Linked DNA regions of Homo sapiens: region 2 is linked to region 1. Evidence: promoter capture Hi-C in 16 types of primary human blood cells and fetal thymus (Javierre and others, 2016). All regions are on one chromosome and are shown on one strand. The core of a region is centred on a gene start or on the middle of the fragment in contact, and the rest is flanking DNA. Distances in the headings are between cores, read along the strand shown. Region 1 overlaps ARHGEF18 (Rho/Rac guanine nucleotide exchange factor 18). Region 2 holds the start of CLEC4G (C-type lectin domain family 4 member G).

What was found. Contacts are between HindIII fragments. The CHiCAGO score rates a contact against its expected background, and 5 or more counts as called.
Region 2: a contact is called between the fragment with the promoter of CLEC4G here and a fragment that was not itself captured in region 1, in 2 of 17 cell types (erythroblasts and megakaryocytes). The highest score is 7.8, in erythroblasts.

Annotation. Positions count from the first base shown.
Region 1 is chr19:7,358,790-7,364,608 of GRCh38, reverse strand. It overlaps ARHGEF18 (Rho/Rac guanine nucleotide exchange factor 18), which reads right to left. Exons shown (of 29, transcript NM_001367823.1): 2 at 1,704-1,828. The coding sequence starts at 1,718. Among named protein-coding and RNA genes, the nearest start is that of ARHGEF18, 13 kb to the right of the region's middle. The HindIII fragment of the contact is 165 bases long and covers 3,587-3,751 here.
Region 2 is chr19:7,730,860-7,733,644 of GRCh38, reverse strand. CLEC4G (C-type lectin domain family 4 member G) reads left to right here and starts at 1,535. Exons shown (of 9, transcript NM_198492.4): 1 at 1,535-1,597; 2 at 1,874-1,984; 3 at 2,326-2,379; 4 at 2,557-2,619. The coding sequence starts at 1,543. RefSeq lists a cis regulatory region at 1,461-1,470 and promoters at 1,277-1,540, 1,228-1,540, 934-1,540. The HindIII fragment of the contact is 11,720 bases long and covers 1-2,785 here.

The DNA.
Region 1 (5,819 bases), core at 2,420-4,919:
GGGTCTTTCTTTTGAGACTGGAGCCTGGGGGCTGGCCTACCCCACAGGCCCCTGACATAAGCGCTTAGAGAAAGTGTGATGAGAGCAGAGGGTATGGACGCAGGCTGCAGAGTCAGAATGGGCTTGAATCCCAACTCTGCCATGACGGGAACTTAGGCAAGTCAGTCTACCTTTCTAGGCTGTATTTGGTTTTAGTCAGCCTGCCTTCCTTCCTTCCTTCCTTCCTTCCTTCCTTCCTTCCTTTCCTTCCCTCCTTCCTTCCTTTCTTCCTCTCATCCTTCTTCTCATCTATCCATTACCCCTCCATTATCCGTCCATCCTTCCTTCATCCTTTCATTTATCCATCCTCCTTCCTTCCATCAACCCATCCATCCATCTTCCTTACTTCCTTCCTTCTTTCCTTCCTTCCACTCACCCGTCTTCTCATCTATCCATTCACCCATCCGTTATCCATCCATCCTTCCTTTATTCTTTTATTTATCCATCTTCCTTCCTTCCACTCACTCTTCTTCTCATCCATCCATTCATCCATCCATTACCCATCCATCTTTCCTTCATTCATTCATTTATCCATCCTCCTTCCTTTCATCCACCCATCTTCCTTCCTTCCTTCCTCTCACCCTTCTACTCATCCATCCATTCACCCACCCATTATTTATCTATCCTTCCTTCATTCTTTTATTTATCCATCCTCCTTCCTTCCATCAACCCATCCATCCATCCCCCTTCCTTCCTTTCTTCCTTTTTTCCTTCCTTTTCACTCACCCTTCTTCTCATCCATCCATTCACCCACCCATTATCCATCCATCCTTCCTTCATTCTTTCATTTATCCATCCTCCTTCCTTTCATCAATCTAGCCATCTTCCTTCCTTTCACCCATCCATCTTTCTTCCTTCCTTCCTTCCACTCACATTTCTTCTCATCCATCCACTCACCCATCCATTATCCATCCATCCTTCCTTCATTCTTTCATTTATCCATCCTCTTTCCTTTCATCCATCCATCTTCCTTCCTTCCATCTTTCATTTTATTCATCAATCATTCATGTATCCATCCACCCACATTTCTCATCTTTCTTCCTTCCTTCCATTCACCCACCTTTCTACTCTTTCATTCATCAACCATCTCTCCTTCCTTCCTTTAATCCACCCATCCTTCTACCTATCCATCCATACTTCCTTCTTTCCTTCCTTCCTTCATCCATCCTCCTTCCTTCCATCAGTCCATCCATCTATCCATCTAGCTTTCTTCTTTTTATTCACCCATCATCCATTTATCCATTCACCCACACTTCTACCCATCTTTCCTCCCTTCCTTCTAGTCATCCGTCATCCATTCATCCACCCAGCCACCCTTCTATTCATCCACGTATCCATCCATCCATCCATCCTTCTACTCATCTTTCCTTGATTTCCTCTTTCCTTCCATCTATCCATCCATCTATCCAGACACCCACCCACCCATCCATCTATCCATCCATCCATTCATCCCTCCATTGCTCCTTTCCTCCCTCTTCTTATTTCAGAACAGATTCTGGTTTCCTCATAGGTAAAACAGGATAATAAATGACTTTGCAAGTTTCGATGAGGATTCCCTGAGATAATGTACACAAAGTGCCTGGTAAAATGCAGGTGCTAAACAAAGTGTACTTGCTGCCACTGTCGTCATCAGCTCCTGCCCGTTTCAGCAGTCAGACACCTGCCTGATCATCCCCCATGGCAGAGAAGAAGTCTGGGTTCTCAGGTTTCCAGGATCCACTGCTGCTCTTGGTGGCTGAAGCCACAGCTCCAGAGTCAAAAGGCTGGACACATGACTTGGGCTCAGAGCCTGTGGAGAAAGGAGGGACAAGGTGTCAGGGATAAGCTGGGAGTGCTGAGGAAGCCAGGACCTGGATTCTGCATCTGTTGCTGGTCACCCTGGACCTCAGTTTTCTCAACTATAAAATGAGTTGGTGAGGGGAGGGGGAAGATGGTCTCAATGATCTTGAAGCCAACATACGTGTCACCTCTTCCCCATCCCAAGCCTATGGCAGACATTGCTAGTCAATCATGAGTCAATTTCCTGCTTAGCCATTTGCCCCCTCAGGATTCTTCCCAACACACCAGTTCCAACAGCCATCACCAGGTGATCCAAGTTGGCTTATGTATGAAATCAATTTGTTATGCCTGCTCTAGGAAAAAGCCCTCAGTTGATCAATGATGCTAATGGTCCCGTAGACCAAATGCAAGTACCCAATGCCCACATTGTTTTTCCTCCTCCTCCTCTTCCTCCTCCTCCTCCACCTTCTTCCTTCTTCTTCCTCCTTCTCCTTCTTCCTCCTCCTCTTCTTCTCCTTCCTTCTTCCTTTCTTCTTCCTCTTCCTCTTCTTGTCTTCTTCTTCCTCTTCTTCCTCTTCTTTTCTCCTTCTTCTTCTCCTTCTTCTCCTTCTTCTCCTTCTTCTCCTTCTTCTCCTCCTTCTCCTTCTCCTTCTCCTTCTCCTTCTCCTTCTCCTTCTCCTTCTCCTTCTCCTTCTCCTTCTCCTTCTCCTTCTCCTTCTCCTTCTCCTTCTCCTTCTCCTTCTCCTTCTCCTTCTCCTTCTCCTTCTCCTTCTCCTTCTTCTTCTTCTTCTTCTTCTTCCACAGAGTCTTGCTCTGTTGCCCCCAAGCTGGAGTGCAGTGGCGTGATCTCAGCTCACCACAACCTCCGCCTCCCGAGTTCAAGCCATTCTCCTGCCTCAGCCTCCTGAGTAGCTGGGATTACAGGTGCACACCACTGCACCTGGCTAATTTTGTGTGATTAATAGAGTTGGGGTTTCACCATGTTGGCCAGGCTAGTCTAGAACTCCTGACCTCAGGTGATCTGCATGCCTCAGCCTCCCAAAGTGTAGGGATTACAGGTGTGAGCCACGGTGCCCGGCCAGTGCTTTATTTGTTTTAGGGCTGAATAATATTCAATTGCATGGAGATACCACATTTCGTGTATCCATTGATCTGTTGATGGACATTTGGGTCGTTTTCACCATTTGGTTATTTCAAATCACGCTGCCATGAACAATTGCATACAGATGTACGCAATTGCACGGATGTGTGTTTTCCATTGTCTTGGGTCGTTACCTAGGAAGGGAATTGCTGGAGTACATGCTAATCTATGCTTAGCTTTTTGAGGAACCGCTGTTATGCAGTCTCTTTTTTGAGATAGAGCCTCACTCTGTTGCCCAGGCTGGAGTGCAGTGGCGCCATCTTGGCTCACTGCAACCTCCACCTCCGGGATTTGAGTGATTCTCCTGCCTCAGCCTGTTGAGTAGCTGGGATTACACGTATGCACCACCACACCTGGCTAATTTTTTTTATTTTTAGTAGAGACGGGGGTCTTGCTACGTTGGCCAGGCTGGTCCGGAACTCCTGAGCTCAGGCAATCCCCCCGCCTTGGCCTCCCAAAGTGCTGGGATTACAGGCATGAGCCATTGCACCTGGCCTAAAACCACTGAATTGTATGCTTTAAATGGGTGAAGTATATGGTAGCTCAATAAAGCTGTTCCTAAAAAGTTTTTTGTTGGAGCCTCTTGCAGAGCTTTGGATGGGGCAGGTACACATGGGGCCTGAAGCTTCAGTTTCCATTGCTTCAAGGTAAATTTGCCCCCTGATGCCACCTGTATTCACAGATGAGTGGCTGGACAGTAACGAGCAATGCCAGGGTTTCCACCATCACTGCTTTCCAGGTTGCCCTCCCGGGCTGGTTGGAGGGACTCTGTTCAGCTGCTGTTGTTAAGCTTTGCATCTGTTCTCTTCCCCACCCAGAAGCCGAAGCAGCATCTATGACTCACAGAAACGAAACAAGCAGGCTGTGAAGGAGGAGGAAAGCCAGATGTGGGGGAGGGTCCTGGAGGTTGGTGGGAGCTTGGGAGGGGAAAGGCAGTCCCATTCCTCAGCCAAGTCCCCTTAGGGCTGGAGGAGAGCCTGCAGGGTTGGCTTGCTTCACTGGACAGGGTCCTTGTGGAGGCCTGAGGCCTCCTGTAGCCTGCAGGACCTCATGCCCTGTATCTGTGAACCCTGAAGGTCTGGGATCCAAAGATCAAAGGTGAAAGGCCAGGGTTGGCCGGGCCCAGTGGCTCACACATGTAATCCCAGCACTTTGGGAGGCCGAGGAAGGCGGATCACTTGAGGTGAGGAGTTTGAGACCAGCCTGACCAACATGGCGAAACCTAGTCTCTACTGAAAATACAAACATTAGCTGGGCATGGTGGCATGTGCTTATAATTCCAGCTACTAGGGAGGCTGACACATGGGAATCTCTTCAGCCAGGGAAGGGCAGGATGCAGTGAACTGAGATTGTGCCATTGCACTCCAGCCTGGGTGACAGAGTGAGACTCTGTCTCAAAGAAAAAAAAAAAGGAAAAGAATGAAAAAAGAAAAGAAAAGAAATGCCAGGGTTGTGTGATTGTGCATGTTTTGTTGTTGTTGTTGTTGTTGTTGTTTTGTTTCAAGAGAGTCTTGCTCTGTCACCCAGGCTGGAGTGGTTCCATCTTGGCTCACTGCAGTCTCCACCTCCTGGGTACAAGCGATTCTCCTGTCTCAGACTTCTGAGTAGCTGGGACCACCGATGTGTACCACCATGTCCAGCTAATTTTTGCATTTTTAGTTGAAATGGGGTTTCACCATGTTGGCTAGGCTAGTCTCGAACTCCTGGTCTCATATGATCCTCCCACCTCGGCCTCCCAAAGTGCTGGGATTACAGGCATGAGCCACTGTGCCTGGCTGAGTTTTGTTTTTATAGGGAAGCTTCTGACCGAGGAACAGGTTGAGCTTGACCTGATGATGAACTCAACTGTGATCCTAGTTCCCAATGACTGACTCAACTCTGATCCTAGTTTTACAGATTGAACTCCAATCTTTGTGTCACAGACTGAGCCATGATCCTGGTGTCATATACTGAGCCTTGATCCTGATATCACAGACTGAACTTCATCTGGCTGTCATTGGTTGAGCATTCATTCTTGTATCATAGAATGAACCCCCCTCCTAGTGTCATAGACTAAGCCTTTATCCTGGTGTCATATATTGATCCCTGATCCTAGTGTCATAGGCTAAGCCCTAATCCTGGTGTCATAGTCTTAGCTCTTATCCTGGTATCATAGACTGAGCCCCAATCCTGGTGTCATAGACTGAATCTTGATCTGGCATCATAGACTGAGCTCCAATCCTGATGTCATAGGCTGTGTCCTGATTCCAATATTATGAGCTAAGCCCTAATCCCAGTGTCATAGACTGAGCTCTGTCAATTACCAACCACAATTGCCCCAAACGATTGCCAATCACATTTGTCACTGATCCTCAGCTACCAGTCTCTCCCCTGTAGTCCATCTTCTGTCCTGGAGTTGGTGTGTCCTTTTGATATAACCCTCTGATGGTCACTCCCCTTCTACTGATCCCCACCCCTATAGACTCCAGTCCCCTTAGAATGACATTCAGAGCCCTCCTCAGCCTGTCCTCTTACCTCCCTGTCACACACATGCACACCCAACTCACCATTCTCCTGGTATCTCTGTGCTGTTCCTACCACTCTTCCTGCCTGGCAACTGAGGGCTCTGTCTCAGATCCTCTGCAGACAATTTTAGCCATAGGACTTTGGATTGCTCTGCCTAGCTCTTTATAGAAAAGGTTTGCTGATCCATGCTCTAGAGCATGAGGTCTGTGAGGGCAGTGACTATATCTGATCCACTTTTACATCCCCAAGCTCCAAAAGGTAAAATCTTGTATCAATCACTTTCTATATGTCTGGCTTAGTGCTAAGCCCATCATGTACTTTTCACTCTTCTATACTCACAGCAACTCTGAGTCCT
Region 2 (2,785 bases), core at 286-2,785, 370 kb before region 1:
TGTTTACATATCTACAAGAGGGGCTGGAACATTCTATTAAGTGCTCAACATTTCACCTTGTCAGTGAGGCTGGCCCTGGCCACCCTAGCCACTGCCCACTGCCTAGTGCCCATCCCAGTCCTGCCAAGTACTTATCCTACTGGATTTTTTCTTCCCTTAATGTTTTTTCATAGCATTTATGACTTTTGAATAGAGTATACTACGGTTCCCACCTTTTGCACTATGGACATTAGGAGTCAGATCATTCTTTGCTATGGGGGATGTCTTAGGCATTGTAGGGCTTTGCGCAGCATCCCTGGCCTCTACCCACTAGATGCCTGGAGCACACACACACACACACACACACACACACACACATTCTGTGACAACCAAAAGTGTCTCCAGACATAGCCAAATGTCCCCTGGTGGGCGTAATTGCCCCCAGCTGGGAACTACTATGCTATACAACTTATGTTTTCAATTATGTTTATTACGTTGAGTATGGAGTCTGTCTCCCCACACTTCTAGAATATTAGCTCCAAGAAGAGAGGAATTTGCTTATTTTACTCTCTGATGTGGCCCCAGTTCCAAGATCAATGCCTGGCATATGGCAGGTGCTCAATGTTTGTTGAAAGAATGCATGAACACTGAGTGTTTTTGATATGCCTGAAATGGTGCTAGGTAGACATGTATAACCTCATTGTCTTTATTTTTTTATTTTTTCAATTTTTGTTTTCATATATATATATATATATATATTTTTTTTTTTTTTTCAGAAATGAGGGTCTTGTTATATTGCCCAGGCTGGTCTGGTCTGGAACTCCTGGGCTCAGTGATCCTTCCATGTCGGCCTCCCAAAGTGCTGGGATTACAGGTGTGAGCCAGCAAGACTGTCTTGTTTCTTTATCATAGCATCTTTGTGAGAGAGGCCCATCGCTATCTCCTTTACAGTGGGGAAAACTAAGGCTTCTAGAAGCTACCTAGAACCCATACAGTGGTAGAGTCCTGCAGCTCCGCCGGCTACCTCCCTAACAAAACTGTTTGTTCCCTTCTGGTACAGAGGGACTGGATCAAGGTCAGGTTCAAACCCAGCCTCTGCAGGCACCTGCAGGGGAGTTGAGAAGGGACCTGAACTGGCCTGGGGGGCTATGCCTGAGGGGGCTTTCTCAGGAGCCAGCAGGGGTTACAATTTGGTCGGGTTCAGTGTGTCCCTCGCGGGATAAAACCCAGCCCCAGGCCCATAAGAGATGGTGACTAAGCTCCAAAGAGAAGCCTCCAGCCCCAGGCCCATAAGAGATGGTGACTAAGCTCCAAAGAGAAGCCTCCAGCACCAGCCTGGGGATGGAGCTGCAGTGGCCAGAACCAGGAGGCTGGAACCGCCCGGCCTCACTCCAGCCCAGCCCAGCCCAGCCTTGAAAGGGCCCAATCCTGTGATTGGTCCATGGGTTCCCGTTGCCAGGAATTAAGGCCAAGAAAATGGGAAGGAAGGAAGGGAGTGCGTAGGTCCAGTGAGAACAGGCGTGAAATTTATATCTCTGCCCAGGACTGGGTGCCTGCATCGCCATGGACACCACCAGGTACAGCAAGTGGGGCGGCAGCTCCGAGGAGGTCCCCGGAGGTATGAGCAAGGAGACTGCCCCATCCCTGCCCCAGTGTCTGGGGTTTGATGGGGGAGGGGAGGGAAGAGTCGAGACAGGCCAGGGTTGTGGGTGCAGGAGAGACACCACAGGCCATAGAGCCAGTTGGACCAGGGTCCAATTCCAACTCTGCCGCTTAGAAGCTGTGTGACCATAGGCAAGTTACTTAACTTCTCTGAATCTCAGTTTCCTGGGAGTAACTCAGGCCTCCAGGGCTCAGTTCTGGGGGACCCAGCATGCCGTCCTTGTTATGCCAGGGCCCTGGGGACGCTGGGTGCACTGGAGCAGGAGACCCCTCTTCTTGGCCCTGGCTGTCCTGGTCACCACAGTCCTTTGGGCTGTGATTCTGAGTATCCTATTGTCCAAGGGTGAGTGACTCTCAATGGGGAGGTGTTGCATCCGGCCCCCCTGGGGACAGAAAACCCCCACTGCATGGCGCACCAGCTGCATCCTGGGGTCCTGTTCGCGTCTGAGTGTGAGCAGAGTGTGTGTACATCTTTGGGCCGTGTGCACTCACGCGTGTGCACATGGCGTGCTCGTATGTGCGCGAGTCCCCGCGCGTTTGTCTCCCATCGGCGTGTGTGCACATCGTGTGAGCTGTATGCCTGCCCGCCCGCTCCGTGCTCCCGAGTTGGGGGACGCTGCACCCCCCGGGCGAGGGGAGGATTCCCGAGTTCCCGGCCTCGCCTGCAGGAGCCTCTCTCCTCAGCCTCCACGGAGCGCGCGGCGCTGCTTGACGGCCACGACCTGCTGAGGACAAACGGTGTGTGCAGAGCCGGGCGCCTGGGCCCCCGGGGCGTGAGGGGCGGGAGTTTCTGAGACCCCGGAGATGGAGTCTCGAGTGCGTGGGGGCCCTATGGTCCCTGAGGCTGGAAGGGGGTCCCCTGAGTCCTCCCAAGTGACCCGAGGGGCATGCATTTTGGGGCGGGGGTCGTTCCAGCCTCGAAGCAGACGGCGGCGCTGGGTGCCCTGAAGGAGGAGGTCGGAGACTGCCACAGCTGCTGTGAGGGGGCGCGGTCGAGGCTGTGGGCGCAGGGATGGGGTCTTGCGGCCGCGATGGGAGGGGGGCCGGGGCGGAGGCCTGCGGCGGGTGGTGCGGGGCGGGGGCTGGTCTCCGAAGTCCCGCCCCATCCTCGCCGCCCTCGCCCCTCTCACCCTGCGGCTCCCAG